Linked DNA regions of Homo sapiens: region 2 is linked to region 1. Evidence: promoter capture Hi-C in human tissues and cell types (Jung and others, 2019). All regions are on one chromosome and are shown on one strand. Each heading gives the region's core, a stretch centred on a gene start or on the middle of the fragment in contact. The rest is flanking DNA. Distances are from core to core; before and after follow the strand shown. Region 1 holds the start of CRYBA1 (crystallin beta A1). Region 2 overlaps TAOK1 (TAO kinase 1).

What was found. The method cuts DNA at HindIII sites, captures the fragments that hold promoters and counts their contacts. A contact is called where the count stands out against the background at its distance.
Region 2: a fragment that was not itself captured here is called in contact with the fragment with the promoter of CRYBA1 in region 1 in 1 of the 25 tissues and cell types used here (dorsolateral prefrontal cortex).

What each region holds. Positions count from the first base shown.
Region 1 is chr17:29,245,358-29,250,563 of GRCh38, reverse strand. CRYBA1 (crystallin beta A1) reads right to left here and starts at 3,705. Exons shown (of 6, transcript NM_005208.5): 1 at 3,670-3,705; 2 at 1,358-1,422; 3 at 264-382. The coding sequence starts at 3,700. The HindIII fragment of the contact is 12,335 bases long and covers 499-5,206 here.
Region 2 is chr17:29,542,944-29,547,819 of GRCh38, reverse strand. TAOK1 (TAO kinase 1) reads right to left here. Exons shown (of 20, transcript NM_020791.4): 20 at 1-4,876. The coding sequence ends at 4,798. It also overlaps the pseudogene LOC124904148. Among named protein-coding and RNA genes, the nearest start is that of ABHD15, 22 kb to the left of the region's middle. The HindIII fragment of the contact is 5,004 bases long and covers 516-4,876 here.

The DNA.
Region 1 (5,206 bases), core at 2,456-4,955:
GATTACTGCCACTGTCCCACCCCATTGTATGTATTTCTTTATCCAGCCCCTGAAATCTAGTACCAAGCCACTAAGAACCTCATGTTCCTTCCTTCTAGCTTTGGCTTACTAAATTATGCATGTAGTGATTTCTTTCGAGGCCTGTCTCCGAGAAATGACTAGAGCCTAGGGGAACATCCTTCTTCCCCTATCCCCACTCTATGGTCCCCTGTCTGAAGGGACCTGAAATAAGGGGCTGCGGTTCTGCGGAAGTCCATACTCACGCGCCACTTTCCACCTTCAGGGACCGGACATTATCAAAACTGCGCTCAGAGACATTTGGACAGGAGCTGGTGAACTCCATCCTCTTGCCCTGAAAGTTCTCCTGATCATAGATGGTTATCTGAAATGAGATTGAATGGCGCAAGAGAGCTAGAACATCAGGAAAAACAGAGGTCCAGGTCAACAGCTTAACTTCAGTCTGACTCTGTGCTTTCTGTTACCAGCTGTAGCCTGGGATGCCTGATGAGGTCTCTTCCAGTGTAGACAGGGCAGGAAGGGGTTTGAATTAATGCCACTGGTTGGTGTTCATTTGCCCAGAGTAGGGATGAGGTGGAGGGAGGATTGGTTTATGATAGAAATGGTCTGCCAGGGATAATATCTAGACCAATGGACAGGCCAAGGACTTATGGGCTCCCATTCCACCACAGTTCCTTCATAAGCATGGCCCAGAGGCCAGGATTCTGGGAGTCCCAGGAGCTCCTTATAGATTCTTAGCTTCTCCAGCCATACCCCCTATAGAAACCTAGAGTGTAAAGGAGAGTTATGGTCAACCCTTTTTGTACATTGAACTAAAACCTGGCTCGTGGACCTGGCCAGAGGACCACTCGCAAAGCTGTGAGCTGGCCTCAGAGTTGACCCAATGAGGAGAGTGGGGAGTGTTGGAGAGAGGCCAGTGAGAGGCCTGAGGATCAGCCACTTCGGCCAATGGTTAAAGCCAACCTCAGGATGGGAGGCTGAGTCCTGTAATTTATTTGGGATCTAGTAGTAAATATCTTTATGGGCCCTCATTTTCTCCATGGACATAACTGTTGCTGGGCTGCTGTATTTTAAGATGACTTTAGTGGGGAGGAGAGAGGAGTTAGGAAACTAGGTATCATCTCCCACCCATCAATGGCATCCACAGTCATCCTTCCTTTGTCCAGTGGGACATCCTGAGAGATCCTTCCTTCGACAGCACTGGAGCTTGTGTGGACCTTTCCCCTACAAACTGGGGTTTTTCTGGTCAGTCACTGCCTTATGGACGAGCACAGGCCTGGGGCCTGCTCTGTGCAGCATGTCACCCCTGCCCTGTTGGATGTGATGGGGGTGGGCTTACCTTCCATGGCCCCAGGGACCCCGGCGTAGGGTTGGTCTGAGCCATCTTGGTGGTTGGAAGGGTTTCTGGAAGACAGAGCACACACGAATGATGTGGCCTCTTGGGAGGAGGGGGAGGTGAGGGAATGCCTTGAAAGGTAAAGGAGACTTGAAGTCTGCAAGACAGACTTTGGTTGAAATTCTGGCTCTGCTGCTCACTAGCTGTGCCTCGGGGTTTGTTGTTGTTGTTGTTGCTATTTTGAGACAGGGTCTTTCTCTGTCATCCAGGCTGGAGTGCAGTGGCACAATCTCACTTCACTGCAACCTCTGCCTCCTGGGCTCAAGTGATCCTTCCGCCTCAGCCTCCCATGTAGCTGGGACTACAGGCATGCACCACTATGTCCAGCTAGTTTTTGTATTTTTAGTAGAGATGGGGGTTTCACCATGTTGGCCAGGCTGGTCCCAAACTCCTGACCTCAAGTGATCCACCGCGCCCAGCCTGAGCCTCAGTTTTTCCATTGGTAAAGCTTCGACATGCAGTTATTGTAAGGATCAGAAATAATAGGCCGGGCACGGTGGTTCACGCCTGTAATCCCAGCACTTTGGGAGGCCAAAGCGGGCGGATCACCTGAGGTCGGGAGTTTGAGACCAGCCTGGCCAACGTGGTGAAACCCCGTCTCTACTAAAAATACAAAAATTAGCCGGGTATGATGGCACACGCCTGTAGTCCCAGCTACTCGGGAGGCTGAGGCAGGAGAATCGCTTGAACCCGGGAGGCAGAGGTTGCAGTGAGCTGAGATCGTGCCACTGCACTCCAGCTTGGGCAACAGAGTGAGACTCCATCTCAAAAAAAAAAAAAAGAAAAAAAACAAGGATCAGAAACAATAATGCAGGTAAAGCACTGAGACCCTGTCCTCTCACTTGCTTTCAGGTGACAGCATTACCTCTGTCTGCAATATAAACTCTTTGGCAACCACCTAGGCCAGACCCCTCATGTGACTGGCCAAACAGCCAGCCATGCCAGGATCCCAAGCCCCAGACTCCCTCGTAACCCTTCACGGTCTCATCCTTATCTGGCCTCTTTCTGCTTTTCTTTTTCTTTTTTTTTTTTTGAGATAGAGTTTCACTCTTGTTGCCCAGGCTGGAGTGCAATGGCGCAATCTCGGCTCACCGCAACCTCCGCCTCCCAGGTTCAAGCGATTCTCCTGTCTCAGCCTCCCTAGTAGCTGGGATTACAGGCATGTGCCACCACGCCCGGCTAATTTTGTATTTTTAGTAGAGACGGGGTTTCTCCCTGTTGGTCAGGCTGGTCTTGAACTCCCGACCTCAGGTGATCTGCCCGCCTTGGCCTCCCAAAGTGCTGCGATTACAGGCATGAGCCACGGCGCCTGGCCATTCCTTTCTGCTTTTCTATCTCCTAGATCCTACCCAGCCTTGACCTTGCCTTCTCAGAGGCTTTCCTGCCTTCTCCAGCCCACAGCCACTTGCTTGCTTTCTTGATTTATAGCACTCATCACAGTACCAATCTGTGTTCTGGTTGGATGTCCTGGTGAGCACCTCAATGGCAAGGCCTCGGTCTTCTAGGGGATTGGTATAGCATCGTGCTGAGCACATGTGGAGATGAGGGATCAGGGGGACATTGAAAAAGACTTATTGAAGGAAAGTGAAGAAGAAAAGAGTTATAATACTTACACTCAAAAATGGCTATCTACATGTCCGGCCCTGTTTTAAATGCTTTACATGCATTCATGCATTTAATCTTCACATACAGACTATGAATTAAGAATTATCATTATCCCCATTTTACAGATGAGGATACTGAGGCTCAAAGAGGTTAGGTAGACAGTGAAGATGGTAGGACGAGTTTTAAAAAAGGAAGGACAGAGCAAGAAAGAGGAAGGAAAAGTGGGGGAGGAAGGGAAGAAGGAAGACAGGCAGGTGTGTATTAGGTTTCTTAGGACAGATATTCATGGCCCTCCTCCTGGCTGGTATTGGGCCCAGGAATGATGCATGTCAACTCTGTAATATATTTTTCCATTCTGAATCTCTGAATAAGCAACATTTCCCAGGTCCTGCTCCCATACCTTCTCCCTGCTCGTTTCTTGGGGGCCCATGCCCATCCCCCAGCCTTAGTTGCTAGGGCAGTGGTTATTGCTATATAAGTGACTCCTCTTGGGGTGACAAGAGAAGGCTGTCTTCCGCCAGAGTTCCCCACTCTTCTCCAGCCACCCTAGAAGGCTCTACACACTAGGCAGGAGAACTGGGCCCTCTCCTGGGCATGTCTCTGCAGGGCAAGGAGAGGAAGGGCAAGGGCACCCTGAGGGCCTTACTCACCCAGCTCCTGCTGCTCAGCCTGGGTCTCCATCTGGTACCACTTGCTCTGTGGCCCTCCTCTTTATAGCCCTGCGGCCTCTGGCCTCTGGCCCTGTCAGCACTCTGCTCTCCCTCTGCCTTTGTTCCTCATGATCCCCAGAGCTTTGGTGGCTCAGCTTGCTGGGGCCTTTGTTTAAACCAGGGATACAGAAATCCAGAGAGGCCCCTCTGTTGTGGGCATGGCTGGCTGCTGCAGGCCTTGGCTTTCTTAATCTCTCAGAGCAGCTAGGGGGTGAGGACAGAAGTCTCTGCCATGAGTACTTGTCTCTTGTCCTTCTCCAGGTTCCTCACACCACCTTGGGATCTTCCTAAGACCTTAAGACCCTGGGAGACCCCATGTCATATCAAACACATCAAAATGCACCTCACTTCCATACAGATGTGCATTTCTTGTTGTTTAAAAATGTGAAAGAATTATTGTAATTCTGAACTCAATATGAGAAAAAATGGTTCATTGTATTCTTGGGAATCTTTATTATGCTGTATTTATATATAACTATGTAAGGGTTGACTTCAATTATAGTTGACTAGCAGACATGTGTCTCTCTGTAGCTATTTTATTAAATATTCCTTTTAATTTTGCAATTTTCTTTAAAAATTTTGGAGCTATAACTTTTGGGTTTTTTAAAAAAGAATTAAACCATTTATTGAATAATTCCTATATATTAGACATGTGCTAAATGCTTTACTTAAAAAGTTTGAATTAAATACTTTTCCACAACAAAAGAAAGAAATACTTTTTCACAGCCACCACAACAGTGCTATTTTCACCTCCATTTTCCAGATTAAGAAACTAAGAGAACAATCAGGTGACTTGCCTAAGGTCACAGTATTTATAATGGCAGAGCCAAGACTCGAATCCAGTTCTAACCAACACCAAAGTCACTGCCCTGCACTGGCCCTCCCTCAGGAGTAATGCATAAATGGCCCAAAAAATTCCAGGAGAGGAAAGAGACCCCCCTGGCTAGAACTGCAGTTCTGAATATAAACACTGAGCATATAATGGATGTAACTTATCTGTTTCAAAAGGGGAAGGAGCCTAGAAATGAAGCAATTTTTCCTCCTCAAATGATCTTGGCTGCCTGTCCCTTTGTCTTCCATGTTAATTCCTTTCACCATTCTGCTCCCAAACAGGCCAGGTCCCACATCAGTTCCAGGAGGAAAGGGCTCTTTCAGCCTGCGGGTCATCGTTGGGCAGCAGTAGGAAGGGGAAGAAGGCAACCTTCTGAATACCTCCTTTGGACTCACCATCTAGATGTAAAGGGTTCACCTGCTCCATCTCAGATTCCCGGGGGCCTTCCTGTGAAGTTGTCTAGGCAAGCGGTGATAGGGACCTAGATGTCCTTGCTTCTCCCCTCTAGCTCACCCAGGCCAGGGGCGAGAATTCCTGCCACCCACACCTTCAAAACCAATTTTTTTTTTCTTTTTGAGACAGAGTGTCGCTCTGTTGCTTAGGCTGGAGTGCAGTGGTGCGATCTTGCCTCACTGCAACCTCTGC
Region 2 (4,876 bases), core at 1,768-4,267, 300 kb before region 1:
AGTTCTTAAAAACTAAGAGTGAGTGAGTCTCTTTTAAAAGGCAATGCTACAACCTGGTTGGGGGCACTATCATGTTAGATGGGGGAAAACAAAATAGATAATTTGTTTTTCTTCAATAATGGTCTGTATTTTGGTAAACAGCTCAAAGATGACAGCCCAAGTTTTGACATTGCTCTTGGAGAAGGCTCTTTTCTATCTAAGACAAGAGAACCTCTTCTTCCATCATTATAGGAGATTCACACTTATATACCTTAAATATATTATTTTTTGATTTGAATACAGAAGACACTTCACATTGTGAGCACAGGACAAAATGCAGGACCATATAAATCTCCAAGGAAAAAGTTAATGTGTTGGGGCAAATCTCTACTTGAATAGTAGTGGCTCAGAAGTGGTGGAAGGTGCACAAAGAACTTACTATTAGCAAGCAAGAAGAGGCAGGTAAAGGGAGAAAGCCCCTCACCCAATACCAAATCCTTCTCTCCCAGTGGCCATTTCCTGTTGATTTTACAGTTCAGGAGAATCTTAGATGCTTTAGCAGTAATTCCTTTCTTGGCTGTTTTGATCCTCAGCAAAGTATATAATTATTAGTATTAATGGAGTAAAAAAAGTAAGAGGATCAATGGTATCACTACTAAGAAATACATATAGAAAGCACATAAAGATTGTGTGATTTATTGGTTCTTTTTCTTATCATCTTTGCAGAGGAATCACCATCAGTGTTCTTACTTTCCATGGTTCATTTCTCTCTGCATTACTTATCTCTTATTGCATCACAACACAAACTCACAGAAACACTAACTGGCTCCTTCCCCAGCACCATTTTACTGCATTGCAACTTATGATTCCAAATTTTACTTAATGTCCTCTCCACTCACAGAAGTGCTAAGAGGGGATTAAAAAGGAAAAGACTGCATCTAATGACCACCTTCTCATAAACATCAACGCAGAGTACTCATTCTTAAGAAACACATGCATTCTTGCCTTAACTGAGGACTGAAATAACAAAACCAAACAAAAATAACAGAACTTTTAAGTGCCCTGATGGAAATGTACAGTATGAGTTACATCCATCCATCTATACACACATACAGACACTCATATGTATATACAATATATACATACAAATGATAATAGCTATACCAAAAATGTGCATATTTAATACAGTTTTAAAAAGCCAGTAGATCATGGTATAATACAATTTATTTCCACTAGTGAATGGCACAAATGGAGAAATGCAAAGGAGGTGTTTCAAGTACAATGAAGTCATTTTTCACAGGTGAAAATAAATAGTATTATTCCAGTGTCCAACATAATGTATTCTACAAAAGTTTAAAATGCCAGACATTTAGTACTTACAGAAATAGAAAGTTACTAAAGTCTGCTTTATGGTCTCAAAAAGACACTCATAGAGTTTTCAATTTTTGAAAAGGGGGTGAGAAAAAAATTGGTGGAAGCAGGAGGGAGTGTCCAGGATAGTTTCTTTAGTGTACTGAATGTTTACCTGATGTCTAGGCAACCAAAAATCATGACTATGCTAAAATGTTCCATTTACCAACAAATCCTTGACCTAGAGTACTAAGCATATTACACCAGTGTGTGTGGCTTCAAATACAAGACTCTCTATCTCTAGGTATTGAAATGGCGAATAAGAATTGCAGCTCTGAAAATATAATATAAACACATTTTTCAGATAGCATTATACAAATAAAAATACTTTTGGATACTAGAATTTGGGGTTAGAGCTGACTTCAATAAGGGGAGGAAAAAATATGTGCAAAGGGAAGGGAGCTCAATTTGGAATAATATATTTCAAAGTATGTGGCTTTGCATTTTTAAAATGCTAACCAAAAAAAATGTGAGATAGAGTGACCCCAAGGAACTTTTTACAGCCAGCCTCTGGATACCAGATATAGCATTTACAACTTCTGATATGCTAGACAAATTTTCCATAGTTTTAATTTTCTTAAAGACATATAGTGAGTGAACACCAACACTGGGAAGGAGGTAGTGTTAATTTGATCAAATATTGATATTTCCCCACTGATTCAGAAAGTGCTTGCTCTTTCTCTAGGATATCTCAAAACCCTTCCAATTTTTCTGCTACAAGCTTTACTCTATGATGGTTCCTACTATGTATGAGATTCCTCAGAAGCTAGATCTCACAAACATATACAAACCAATTAATTTGAATCATTTTTTGCAAACTGTATATACTTTAAAGTTAACTTAATGATAAAATCCAGGTATAGTCATGACCTACATGTAAAACTGGTGGCCAAATACATTAGATACAAAACCCTACTGGAGATCTGAATGGACTCAGTAACTCTCAATTTGACTAATTTAAGTCCACAATTGGACTTTAAAATGTACCACCAATAATATTTTGGGTTTGAAAGAGTTTTTGTATGCAAAAGTGATCTGCTTCCCTATTCCACCCATCCAGTAGTACAGAGCAGCCAGATCTATGAATAATTTTTAAGGGTATCAAATTGTATTTTTGACATTTTATTAAATTCTAAAGCTCTCTCGTCATTTTACACCAAATAAGTAATTTCTCAATTTGTTGGAAACGCTATAATACCTGAATGCAAAAAAGATACTGAGACGACTAAAAGCCCCTTTCACTGATATTACAAGTACATGTCATGTCATGTTTACCTAAAAACCGGTGACCTGGAGCATGGGCTGAAAGAACAACACATAAGAGTGCTTCTTGAAACACTGCCTAAAATTTTGTGTGAACTCTATGGTGATCTTGGTTTTAAAAACATTTACATTAAAACATTAATTTTCTTCCAGTTTCCTTAAAATGAATCCCAGAAACTCCTACAGGTGAGGATTCATGGCAACTCGACTGACATACCTGGGAAAGACTTAAAATTTGGTTGAGAAAACCAGGACTTCAACAGTGATAGATTGATTACTGTTTGGTCATTAGTTTGGTCTAGGCAAAGAGTGCCATTGAGAGGGACTTAGAGAGTTCTACCTTGGAGCCCTCTGACTATAGGAAAAGCAGGATCCAGAGTTAGCAGCAAGGATTCTTCAAGACAACTTGGAAGGGAGCAGGACAATAACTTGTAAGAAACTCTGATTTGTCACTGAAAAGGATATTTTTCTTCAAGTCATACTCACAGCTTCCTACCCACCTCCAACACAATTTATATACAAGAAATGGAAAACCAAGAAAATAACTGACTTTTTAGCATTGGGTTCATCCTTCATTGTACAACAAAACATAACAAAACAAAACATGTGCCCCCTGAAAAATAAGAGTTAGCTTTCGTCAAGAGATTCCCTGACCACTATAACTTATTTTACTTTTTTTTTTTAATTGGCCAAACTTCCTAGTTCCTTTTCAGTAGTACTTTAGCACTGAGGCTTGAGACTTGTGGAAGTGGTGTTTCCTATTGTGTGATGTTAACTTGATGCCAAATGGTCACTAAGTCTCAACGAACTAGAAGTTTGTAAAGTACTGCAGCAACGAAAACAGCAATTAAAAATAGAGGACCTGCACATGCAGCAAAATCTACAGTGGTGATGAAGATTAGTCAGCAGCTGGTAAAGTCATTGGCTCAGTGACTCCTGGTTCACTGTGGCAACTAAACATTTAAATAATTGGCTATTCTACTTGTAAACAGAAAATCACATAAGCCAAAAGGAGATAACAATTATGTCTATGTAGTGTGACGAGAATTTCAATAGATGGCAATTTGCAAATATGGCATCAAACACCTCCGGCATTTGATTTGTATTGGCTATATGTCTTTGTTTTTGTACAAACAAAGTAAAAGTACTGTTTGGGGTCTTGGGCATTATAGAGCTTAGCTAGGATGAGATATCACAGTATAAGCAACAAAACGTCAGGACACGTAAGCTTCATCTCCTCACTCTGCTGCGGGACATACCCACCATATGAACTTTCAGGGCCCCTCTCACCCTTCTGGTCTTCCCCATTGAAGGCTCATAGGTTTGTTAATGCAATCCTCACACAACTTGTGATCTCCTTAAGTACCCCCATCTTATCATAATACAAAGAAGGCACAATTGAATGGACAAAAATCACTCACAAGCCTATGACGCATTCAGGAAAAAAGAAAAACTAAGTTGTTTTCTACTCTCTGAAAAAATCAATGAAGTCCTTTAGTGTTCATGGATTTCTACACTTGATCTTAGCCAAAAGGCCGAGAAGCAATGTGTTCATGGATTTCTGCTTTCTTTTTTTAGTCCAAATGAGGCTGAGAAGTCAGATCAATTTAATAACAAATAAATACACTGGTGAGGCAATGCAGGTGTGTACCAGTAATAACTTATTTCAACATATGCTGCCTGCTGTGAGTGGCTCATAAGAATTTGGGATATGGGATAAAAAGGCTTTAGATCTTTTCAGAAACTTCTTAGGATACAGACACCCAAAAGTGATAACTGAAGCCATTTTGCTACGTTCTATTTTTGCAGTGTTCAGAAAAATCCCCTATCTAGCCAATTCTTTTCACCACATGCATAATATATGTGTATGTGTGTGTATATATATGTACACACATACACATTTATTTTTAATATCAACTCCACTTTTCAAAATTTCCCCAAAAACAAACAAACCCGGCAGCCAAGTACTATGACATCCCAATTAGTAAACACAAAACAGAACGCTTTACAAAAATGAATAAAATATACCATATGCACTCAGCTTCCACACTGTAGTACCCAAGTGAGGAGGCTGCTGTGATGATGTCTGTAGGCAGTTTCTTTTGGCAGACAGCTCCAGCGGAATTGCCACTCTCAATTATTAAGTTATGTATAAGACATGTGTGACCCATTGGATATTTGTGAAGTGACACTCGTGCTTCTGCTCATGCCCTGCTCCGTCCGT